Regions from separate parts of the Homo sapiens genome. Here region 1 is linked to region 2. The links are contacts of gene promoters, found by promoter capture Hi-C in human tissues and cell types (Jung and others, 2019). All regions are on one chromosome and are shown on one strand. Each heading gives the region's core, a stretch centred on a gene start or on the middle of the fragment in contact. The rest is flanking DNA. Distances are from core to core; before and after follow the strand shown.

Region 1 (5,398 bases), core at 2,525-5,024, 81 kb before region 2:
TCTGTCCTGGAATAGGAGGAACGACCACTGACCTCCCCTCCCCACACTGGGCTTGATCTTCTGATAAAGGGGCTGAAGGGGGAGGCATCTTCTTCCCCCTCCTCTCAAGGGTGCCATTTTCATGCCTATGATGATGCTCATGTACATGGAAATGAGTGATGTGCTAATGAGAATTTAGTTTTGCTTTTGTTAAAGCAACCCCTAAGGAGGCGTAATAAGAAACCTGCCTACTAATTTTCAGTGGCCTGACATCATAACAGCAACCTCCTCGGCTGCACAAAAAGAGGTTTGTGCTAAAATAGTGAGAGAAATGACAGTAATAGGTACCGGTTCACTGAGCACCTATCTTAGTACTAGGCACTGAGCTCATTGCTTTATATGGTGAACTTTATTTCATCCTCATATCTGCCCTGGGGGAGATGCGGGCTTTCATTAACCCCATTTTACAGAAGAGGAAATTGAGGCTCAGAGAGGTAGAAGTGACAGACCAAAAGTTAACCCTGGGTCTCTCTCACTTCAGAACCAGAACCATTCTCCCTTGCTCACTCTGTTGGTGAATTCTAAGGGCCCATGTCCCTGATATTCTCAGATGAATGATTCTGTAGAAAACATAAAGACAGATAAGAGAAGTGGAGAGTCATGCTGGAGAAGTTCATACCAATCGTGGTGAATCCTTATCTCGTTTTTGAGACCACCCTGGGCCTAAATCATACACTATTTTATTAATTCCCCCCAACTACTGAGAAAGAAACCGGTAACACTTCCTGTCAGGAAGCTTTTTAGCTACGAGAAGCTAGAACTGATCTCAGTGAGGAAGACGCTTTGGATATGCTTGCCCCATATCAGCCCTAACCCTTCCTTGCCTGTCTTCATTAAGGAGGCTGGAAAAGTTGAATATCCACTTTACTGCCAGAAGTGGCCACATGGCCAATTCCAGCCAATGAGAAATGAGTGGAAGCCTCTACTTTCCTGATAAGAGAAACAGACATTGCTTGCAGCAGCCTTCCCTACCTCCTCCTCCTGCCTGGAATATGATGTGATGCCTGAACTGTGGCAGCCATCCTGTATTCAGAAGGAGAGGCCAAGAAAATCACAGACATTGCTGAGCCTGTGATGACTAGCATCACAGTCACTGTCAACCTCTAGATTTTTTGAAAATGAGAAGGATAAAATTTCTATTTATTTAAGCCTATGTTAGCTAGATTTTTTACTGCTTGAAATAAAAAACACCTTAATGGGTATAGCCTTTTTCAGTATGTCTCTTATTAGAGTGAGGAAATTCCCCCATATGCCCCTTTCTTGCCTATTCCTCTCACATCTCTGTCCAGAACTTGGTCCAATGTCTCTTACTAAGCTAATTGCTAGTCAGGGAAAGGAACCAACATGGTTGGCTTAGACCAACATGGTTCTTAAACTTGAAGTACATCATTGTCTTACGTGGGGGGCTTGTTAAAGTCCAGATTTCTGATTCCTATCTCCAGAGTTTCTGATTTAGTAGGTCTGAGAGGGTATCTGAAAATTTGCATCTCAGGGAAATGTTCTGCTCCACTATCTATACACGTAATATCAGAGAAAGTTTGCTGGGGGAAAAGTAATCAAGGGAGGCTTCTTGGACGAGGGATCATAAGTTAAGACTTAAAGCTTAAGGATGGAAAAGATGTGTTAGGATGGTGGCAGGAAGGAATGCCCTTAGTGAGAAACAAATGGCCAAAAAGATGGTAAGTGGAAAATGAGGAGGTGTGGTGTGGAGTAAAATGGAGAGGATTGGATTGGGTAGGTACTGTGGTTTCAACTGATGAAGGGCTTTCATCATTAGCTCCAGAATCCAGGAGTTGATTTTGGAGGCAAGAGGAAGGTAGGTTAAGAGCTTGGTCTTTATTGCCAGACTTGTGATTCAAGTCCTGGCTCCATCATTCATTTATTCATTCATTTATATTTTTGCTGTGGTTTTTCTGAGCAAGTCAATTTCTCTCTCCTAGCCTTTATTTTCTCTCAGATATAAAATGGGAACTGATGATGCCTCTCTCAGAGGGGTCATTATAGGATTTAAATAATACATGCACCTAGTGCTAAATCCATGATAGCTGAGAGAAAAATACTCATTTTGAGAAAAACCTGTATCCTCATCTCTCATGACATGTTAATTGGTGGGCTGAGGTTCATCACCAAATAACTTCAAGAAATACTGAGTTAGTAAAGGTTTCTTTACTGTAGGACTTTGCAGAGACTTTAATATGCTAATATGAGGGATGAATCTCATGAGAAAGACAGTGACCTGCAGCATTTCCCCAAGCTTGTTTTGCTCACAAAATGCTTTTTTAAAAATATAAATTATTGTAAACATTTTTGGGAATGCTCATGTTTAGCAGAACAATGAGAAACCAATGTAAAGCATCTAGGTACTATTTTACAAAAAGTTTTCATTTATGTTTTAATGAAGCATAAAAATGGCAGCATTTTGTCAATTCATTAGGTTATACTTCTGTGTTAGTCAGTTTCCCTAAGTTATGCTGGCATAACTAATAACCGTCAAATCTCCCTGGCTTACAACAACAAATATTTATTTCTTATTCACCTTACACTCAGGACTGGCTGCAGCTCTGGCCAAATCCTCTTCTTCCTGGGACCCAGCTGATAAAACAACCCTATTTGGAATACACTATTCTGGTGGAAGGCAGAGAAAAGCCACAGTGGAAACGTGGTGGCTCTTAAGGCTTCTGCTTAGAAGTGGCATTACCTCACTCAGGTCATATATCATTGGCCAAAGTAAGTCACATGTCCAGGCCTGATGTCAATGGCACAGGAAGTATAATTCTCTTATAGGGAGCAAGAGAGAGCTTTGGGAACTAAAAATACGGTCCATTCTGTTGTTAAAAGAAAAACTTTAGACAAATTAAATTTAGCAGAGTTTATTTGGGCAAAAAAGTGATTCATGAATTGGGCAGTACTCAGAGCTAGAAGAGGTTCAGAGAGCTCCACTTTAGCAGTTGAGCTGCAGGCTTTTATAGGGTGAATGTGGAAGCAAAGCAAAGACATTGCTTGACTGGCTACAAGTAGGTGTTTGCCTTATTTGGGCACGATCTGGTGGAAAGTCCCTAGAGGTTAGTTGGCGGTTTCAAATTAGCTAAGTCTCCAGGATCATTTTACGGTTTACATTAGGCTTTGATTTGCTTACATAGGAACCCAAAGCACTGGAGCTATCTCAGCATAATGGCACCTCAACTTAAAAATATTAACACTGTCATTTTGAAAATAGCCACCCTGTTTTAAAATACTGCCTAATTTGCATTGTTCATTAATTTAGTTTTGTCTAAAATTGGATTATATTGTAAATTAAATAGCGAAGAAAATGATCATATTTATAATATTGAGACATCTCATCCATGAATTTGCCATATTTCACCATTTACTTAGGCCTTCATGTCCCTCAATACAGTTTTCTTTTCTTTTCTTGGTACCTCACAGTTTATGAAGTATATTTAATTCTCCAGAAACTCTCTAAGTTGCTAAGTTGCTATTTTGATTATTCTCTCATTTTTTTCTTTTTTTTTTTTTTGAGACAGGGTCTCACTCTGTCACCCAGGCCAGAGTGCAGTGGCGTGATCTCGGCTCACTGCAGCCTCTGCCTCCTGGGTTCAAGTGATTCTTGTGCCTCAGCCTCCTGAGTAGCTGGGACTACAGGCACGCACCACCATGCCCAGCTAAGTTTTGTATTTTTAGTAGAGATGGGGTTTCACCATGTTGCCTAAGCTGGTCTTGAAATCCTGACCTCAAATGATCTGCCCACCTAGGGCTCCCAAAGTGCTGGGATTACAGGAGTGAGCCACCATGCCCAGCCGATTATTATTATTTGATAAATGAAGAAATTGTGGTTTACAGAGAGCCCAAGTCCATTTTACTTCTAAATAAAGCTTAGGTCCAAGGGCTGATTCAGGTGCGTGTGACAAAACCAATCAAAGTGTTTTTCAAAACTGAGAAACCCAGACATGGCTGAATCTGTAGGATCTTATTGGTGTCCTAGGTGCACTCTTCCTACCTTTATCTCTCAGCTTGGGTGTCTTGTTTGTTCACGTCATTCTCAAGCAGATATTCCCCATATGACAAAAGGATAGTTGTCAGAGGTTCATTGCCATTGGCAACCCTAGAGAAAACCTGAGACTGTCTTTCCCCGAGCATCCATGTCAATCCCTGAGAAGGACTCTAATTGGTCAGCCTGGCCTGGTGCTCACTCTTGCATAGGACCACATGATTGACAGCCCCATTAAAATCATTTGGAGAGGTAGGGGGAGAGTTCCCTAAAGGGAACGAAGGGCTGAAGGAGAATGATGCTAGGTGGCCAGAATGAATGGCAGATGCCCACTGTATCGTGCAGTCCCCACTGCCCTTCACTGGGGTGTGGAGGGAGGAGGCTTGCATCCTGTGTTGGCTTTGCTAGTAGTAATTTTGTCATATTGTAACTTCTGGGACTCTTACTTTGCTCATATGGCAAATGGGGAGCCTAACCACACAGGTGGGAAACAAATGAGGAAACGCATGGAAAAGGAGATCTGCAAAATAAAGCACTCTGTAAGAAATTGCTTGCATCATCATTGGCCATAATTAGTGAAGTTATCCCTCAGCTCGAGAACCTTGAATGGTTCCCTACTGCCTGACTCATTAAGTTCATGACACTTTGTGGCACTTGCAGGGCTCTTTAGCGTTTGGTCCCACCTGGCCTACCTCACTTCTGCCTAACCTACCTCCTCCAGTCTAAGCAAGCTGGTCTTCTCTTGTCCTGCTCACTTGCACTTTGAAGCCAATTCCCCAGTTCCACCTAGTATGAAACCACCCATTTTCCTGGGTGTCCCTGGCAAGTTTTGGATTTTCCGTGAAACTCAGTTTTTTCATCTCTTAAACTGGAATAATTGCTTCACAGGGTCATTGTGTGTATTACATAAAAGTGCATTGGCTATCCTTGTTTCCCTTGCATATTCTTTCCTGTGCACTCTTCTAGGGATCACCTCTGAGACAGTGATGCGTAAGGAAGGTATTTCCAACTTGGGAACACTTGGGCCCATCAGAGGCACTTATGACAGATTGCCTGGTGTCTTAGTCTGTTCATGTTGCTTGAACAAACTACCATAGACTGGCTATCTTATAAATAAATAATAGAAATTTATTTCTCATAGTTCTAGAGGTTGGAAGCCCAAGATTAAGGCACTGGCAGATTTGGTGTCTGGTGAGGGCCTTCTTCCTTGTTCATAGTCTTCTTACTGTGTCCTCACATGGCAGAAGGGACAAGAGATCTCCCTGGGACCTCTTTCATAAGGGCACTAACCCCATTTATAAGGGCTTTATCTCCCAAAGGGCTCATTTCCACACACCATCACATTGGAGATTAGGTTTCAACATATGAATT
Region 2 (6,095 bases), core at 1-2,500:
AAAAAAAGAAAAAAAAAAGAAAAGAAAAAGGAAGGACAATTGTTCAGCAAGAGAGTGTCAACTGTAAGTTTCTCTAGGCCTCCCTCCAAGGCCTCTTCCATTCTGATGAGTCTGTGCCTGAGAAGTGGCTAAGAGGGGCAGGCACTGGACCAGAATGGCCACTGACCTGCTGTGTGGCCTTGGGCAAGTCACTTGGCCTCTCTGAGCTTCCCTTTGCTCCCCAGAAAAGTGGAATTACTCAGAATACAAACCCAAACCATTGGGTTGTTTTGAAGACTCTAGTATATGTCAAGTTCTTAGCAATGCCCACCATATATGCCTCACAAATGATAGCTAGCATGATTGTTGTTGTTTTTGGTGGTTATAGTGACAGGAGAGGTGAGCATGCTGTCGGGTTGAAGGAGGAATTTTGCTCTGAAAGGGTTAAACTTGAACCAGCTGCTCCCAGTCCTGGTGATAAGGTTGGAGGAAACACAGTCCAGGTCCCCAGCCCTGTCACAAGTGGATTTATGAGGTGCTGGTCACTTTGAGTCGGAGTAGATGATCCCCGCAGACTGCACAGGAAACATTCAGGGTTAGTGGCCAGAAGGGGCTCAGGCCTCTGTTAAAAGAATGAGACAGAGTAGAGAGAAAAAGAGAAAGCCAGGCAGCAGGAGCCCCGCAAACACCCCACCCTGCAGGAGGGGAGAAGGGGAGAGATGGGGTTGAAGGGAGAGACAGAGAAAAGGGAGAACCAGAGGCCCAGCCAGGAGGACACAGACAGTGAGCCTGAGAGAGAGACGGCCGGCAAGAGTAAAGGATGCAGGAACAGCCAGGCAGGGTCGGGGGCAGAGCAGGGGAGCGCGGGCCGCGGAAAGACCGAGAAAGCAGGAGACAAGGAGTTGTCCTTAAGGGCCAGAAGGAGGAACAGACAGAGAAAGGGGACTGGGGGGAGGGAAAGAAAATCACAGGCGCTGAGAGGGCGCGGGGGACCGTACGGGTCTCCGGGTGTCCGCGCATCTGTACCTGCGCGCGCGTGCGTACCTGTGGCTGGCGGTGGGCACGTGCACGTGCTCGGGGGCAGTGCTGGGGGCGGGAAAGACGCAAGACCGCCGGCTGCGGGACAGATCGAACTCGAGGGCCCCGACCCGGGTGACCCCCGCCCCCTCCCCGCGCGCGCTCCCGGGCCCCGAGCTGGTTAACGCGCCGCCCCCGCCGCGCCGGCTCCTCCCCGCCAGGGCAGTGCCCCGGCTCCGCCAACGCCCTCACTAGACCTGGCGGCCGGACCGACCCGCGCCTGGCGGATGCGCCCGGCGCGCCCACAGCAGCCCCCGCGCCCGCCGTGCCGCCGCCGGGACGTGGGGCCCTTGGGCCGTCGGGCCGCCTGGGGAGCGCCAGCCCGGATCCGGCTGCCCAGATGCGGGCGCCACTCTGCCTGCTCCTGCTCGTCGCCCACGCCGTGGACATGCTCGCCCTGAACCGAAGGAAGAAGCAAGGTACAAGGGGTGGCTGGGCAGGGCGGCCGGGCAGGCGCTGCGGGGCAGACCGGGGGCCGGAGGACCGGGGGCGGCGGCTCTGGGGGCATCTGCCTGGTGCCTGGCGCCCTGGGTCCTTCGCTCCTCCAGACGAGTCTCAACCTCACTTAAGATGGGGAGATTGAGGCTCCAGGGCACCCAGTGAGCGAGCCATTGAGTAGGGTGGGCCAAGGAGACTCACCCAGAAGGGAGAGGGTAGCAGGGCTCTCTGTAGTAGCCGCATGGTCAGCAGAAAGGAGGATGGCTTCGTGCAGAGACAGAAGACTCAAGAGCCAGCCTGCGGGGCACAGGGACTAGGAGACAGACTCAGTGGCGTAGAAGCCATTCCAAGCATCCATGCTCGGCCAGGAAGTGACATAGAGAGCCTTGGGCTGGGCGTCCAGAGGCCCCAGTCCCAGCCTCATCACTCACCCTGACTCCTGGTGTCACCTCCCAGAGGGCAGTGATCCTCCATGGCCCCCCTATGTTGAGTTCAGCCAGACCTGAGACCTGAGTTCAGGTTCACTTATTCTAATAGGGGATGACCTAGAAGAAGTCCAGCCCCTCAGAGAGCCTCAGCTTTTCCATCTTCACCTCTCAGGCCACTAGGAAGATGAGCCAAGGTTCAGATTATAAATGTACCAGGGGCCGCATGCGCTCTCACCTGGGAGTCCTATGCCACAGCCTCGCTGTGAGAGTCAGAACATCCTCAGAAGGTGGGTTGGAGGCTGTCCCTGCAGAGCAGGAGTTGGTAGAGCCTGTGCCTCAGAGAAGGGTAAGCGGGTGAGCAAGTGAGCAAATCGCCTGCCTGAGCTGGGCAGCCCTTTGGCCTCCAGGTGCCACTCTTAAGATCAGCAGCCGAATGCCAGCCACTATGCCACGGGTTTTTCATGTCCTAGCTCATCAAATCCCAACTATATGCTCATGACATAGGGGTCGTCCAGTTTTAATAAAGCCTGGGATTCCAAGGCTCAGACTGGTTTAAATAACTGCTGAATTGTCCAGCTGGTGTCTTCTCTCTTTCCAGCCCTGGCATCGGGTCTGAGCAAGGATAAAGGGGAAGGAAAATGAGAGAGGATGGGTTGCCCTCTGGGGCCTTCCATTTGTGTGAAAGCCCTACAGCGACACAGTCACTCCTGGAACGGAGCAGGAAGCAGACAGAGGCTGTGGGAGAATTGGGAGGTGGGATTGGATGGGGTTGGGGAGACTGTGGCCCAAGAGGCTCCAGTTCTTGCTGTGACAGTGGGACAAGGGACTAGAGAGGCGTGTGGTTTTCAGCTGAGCTGGGGTGAGTTTGGGACTCTATGGGGACACTCCTTTGTGAATGGCCTTTGTTTAGTAGTTAGGGGCATGGGCTCTGGAGCCAGGTCAACTGAGTTCAAATCCCAGCTTCCCCAGTTACCAACTGAGTGACTTTGGATAAGTCACTTTGCCTGTCCAATCCTCACTTTACCCATCTGAGGGTCCTTTAGAAGATCTCTGAGATCTTTCTCCATTCTAAACAATACCAAAAAATCAAACAAACCCCCTTTCCCTTCATCAACCCATCTTTTACTTAAGTATCCTGCTCATAAGGAGGATTGTGGGCAAGATGAGTAGCTAAGGACACAGGCTCCTAATGGGTGCTCGTAAGTATTAATCATTCTCATTTCCTGTCCACTGTGTCTTTGGCTACTCACAGTGGCTTAGTGGAGGGAGGGGAGAGATGCTTGTTTTCTGGATGAGGGAACTGAGGTTCAGAGAAGGAAACTGACTTGTCCAAGGTCGCACAGCAGGTGAGTAGCAAAGCAGGCTCGAATCCCAATCTGCCTGACATAATGCTGAGAAGATATCTTCTGAGGTGTGCTGGTCTTCCCTTCTCAGAGCCTCAGTTTCCTCATCTAAAGAGGAGCTGGTTTAGGCCAGGTGTGGTGGCTCACGCCTGTAATACCAGCACTTTGGGAGGCCAAGGCAGGCGGATCATTTGAGATCAGGAGTTTGAGACCAGCCTGGCTAACATGATGAAACCCTGTCTTTACTAAAAATACAATGATTAGCTGGGTGTGGTGGCGGGCGCCTGTAATTCCAGCTACTTGGGAGGCTGAGGCAGGAGAGTCGCTTGAACCCAGGAGGCAGAGGTTGCAGTGAGCCGAGATCATGCCACTGCACTCCAGCCTGGGTGTCAGAGTGAGACTCTGTCTCAACAACAACAACAACAACAAAAAGGAGCTGGTTTAGAAGACTTTAAGATGCTTCTCAGCTCAAAAAAGACAAAAAAATTAAAGAAAAATGAAAAATTCCTATCCTGCCCCTTTTGCCCCCCGCCCCATCTACAGCTCACCACCACCTCCCCAGGAGCTCAGTGAGGAGGTAGGGATATGGCCGCAATTTGGTGAGGGGCTCTCAGCATCCCTCCTCCAGTACCTGATCTCTTGCCTCTGGGACACACACCTGCCTAGCATCTTCAGAAGAGGCTTAGGGCTCCATTTATTTGTTGGGGTACAATGGAGATAGCCTTGGATTTCAGTCACACCCCTGACCCAGTTGTATCATGTGACCTTGGGTGAGTGGATTTTCTCTGTCCCCCGCCCATAGCCTCAGTTTCCCACTGGCACTGCAGTGGGGACCAGAGCTAGATAAACCCTTCCTGTAGCATATTTTGCAAGGCAGCCACAGGAGTTCTGGTCAAATAGATTGGGAAATGCTGGGTTTAGCAGATTTCTTGGCTGTGAGACTTATCAGAGCATGCTGAAGAGGTGGAGACAGACAGTGTAACCCAGGTGCGATGGCTCAAGCCTATAATCCTGGCACTTTGGGAGGCCAAGATGGGAGGATAGCTTGAGCTCAGGAGTTCGAGACCAGCCTGGGCAACATGGCAAAACTCTACAAAAAATACATTTTTTGTCTCTATAAAAAAATACAAAAAATAGCCAGGCATGTTGGTGGTGGTGCACACCTGTAGTCCCAGCTACTTAGGAAGCCGAAGTGGGAGGATCGCTTCAGCCCAGGAAAGACATCAAGGCTGCAGTGAGCCGTGATTGTGCCACTGCACCCCAGCCTGGGCGACAGAGCAGACCCTGTCTCAAAAAAAAAAAAAAAAAAAGAGAGCGAGAGAGAGTGACCTTTCCCAAACATATTACACATCAGAGACCATTTCTCATAAGGCATCTGCTTGGAAAATTCTGTACACAATCCCTCAGGGTCCTACCAGCTTTGACCTTATCTAACTTTGGCAGGAGAATGTGTCCTGAAAACACCTGGGTATTGGCAGTGCTTCATTCATTCACTTGTTCATTTCACAGGGCAGCCTCTGTGCCAGGCTCTGTGTTGGGGACCTTGGAGATACCCAGGTGAGCAGCCCTGGGCCTGTCCTTGGGGAGCTGCCAACATAGAGGGATGACCCTTTCCCACCTTTCTCCAGCCTCCCCCATGCCTGAGTCTTTGGCCTTAGCGTTTGGCCAGGTCTGCACAATCCCGAGGAATGAGGTGCTGGGCTGGCATCTGCCCTCTCTGAGCCTGCTTGAGGCCTGGTTCCCACAGGCCCATCCTTCCTCAGGCTCCGGCGTCACTGCGTCTTAATGAAGCCCAATTTTTCTGTTTCTAAGAAAGAATGAAGTAAAAGACTTGAGAAAGATTCTTGGATCTCAAGTGTCTCTTACAAAACAGCATGTTGATTAATGAAGTGTAAATGAATCAGAACCAGATGGGGACATTTTTTTGAAACATGCTGGGGTGTCCTGGCAATGGGACAGTAGGGCAGAGTGAGGGGGCCCTGGTTCGCATCCCTAGATCTGGAGGTCCATTTGGGCAAGGAGGAGATGCCAGCCTGTGACTGACTTTCCCTGACATCCAAGGCCTTCTGGGGAGGGACCCCCACATTCACATGGAGCTTCTGGATCTTTCTAGACCTGAGCAAGCAAGGGGCAAAGTGAAGAGCCCTGGGATCAAACCTTGAGCCCTCTCCTGCCCTAGATATGTGACATTAAGCAGGCCACATGCCTTCTCCCGTCCGTGCTTCCCCATCTGTGAAATGGGAAAACTTACACCTACCTCTCTGAGCAATTGGGAAGATTTACTGCAGTCCAAGAGGGAAGGGGGCCAAAGGCACACAGTAGGGGCTTCATAAGGATTTGACCACTTTCCCTTCCCATTTTACAGCAGAGCAGACATGCCCTGGACCGGAAGGGAGTGGGGTCTCACGTGGGTTAAGCTCACCTCTGCCTCTTGCTTGTGGTGCATCCGGAGCAAACCTTCTCCTCTCTCTGAGCTTGTTTTTCTTTATTGTAAATTGACTGTGGCAGTGCCCACTCCAGAGGCCTGTTATGTGGAGTGAATATGATGCTTCCGTTTAAATTGCAAAGCCCCTTGTGGAGGGCCAGGCAGACAGCACTGTCTCCTGTACACAGACAGATGCACCAGGCCCTGGGCAAGCAGGCGCCATCGCTGGGCACGAACAAAGTATGTCCCCTGAGTGCTGGCATCCAGGTGAAGCCAGGTTTAGATGCAGGGGTAGTTCTGAAAGGGATTCCTACAGGGCAGGGGTGGGTAATGACTGGACATTGAGGGCTGAGGGAATGGCGCTGAGTCTTAATAGAATGTAACCTTGGGTCTCTCGGCTTCGGT

Evidence for each region. Contacts are between HindIII fragments. The study calls those that stand out against the background at their distance.
Region 1: a fragment that was not itself captured here is called in contact with the fragment with the promoter of RSPO4 in region 2 in 4 of the 25 tissues and cell types used here (dorsolateral prefrontal cortex, mesendoderm cells, pancreas and 1 more).

The regions. Positions count from the first base shown.
Region 1 is chr20:1,081,249-1,086,646 of GRCh38, reverse strand. No RefSeq gene overlaps it. Among named protein-coding and RNA genes, the nearest start is that of PSMF1, 35 kb to the left of the region's middle. RefSeq lists an enhancer at 1-56 and a silencer at 237-336. The HindIII fragment of the contact is 3,614 bases long and covers 1,968-5,398 here.
Region 2 is chr20:997,466-1,003,560 of GRCh38, reverse strand. RSPO4 (R-spondin 4) reads left to right here and starts at 1,250. Exons shown (of 5, transcript NM_001029871.4): 1 at 1,250-1,475. The coding sequence starts at 1,397. The HindIII fragment of the contact is 18,767 bases long and covers 1-6,095 here.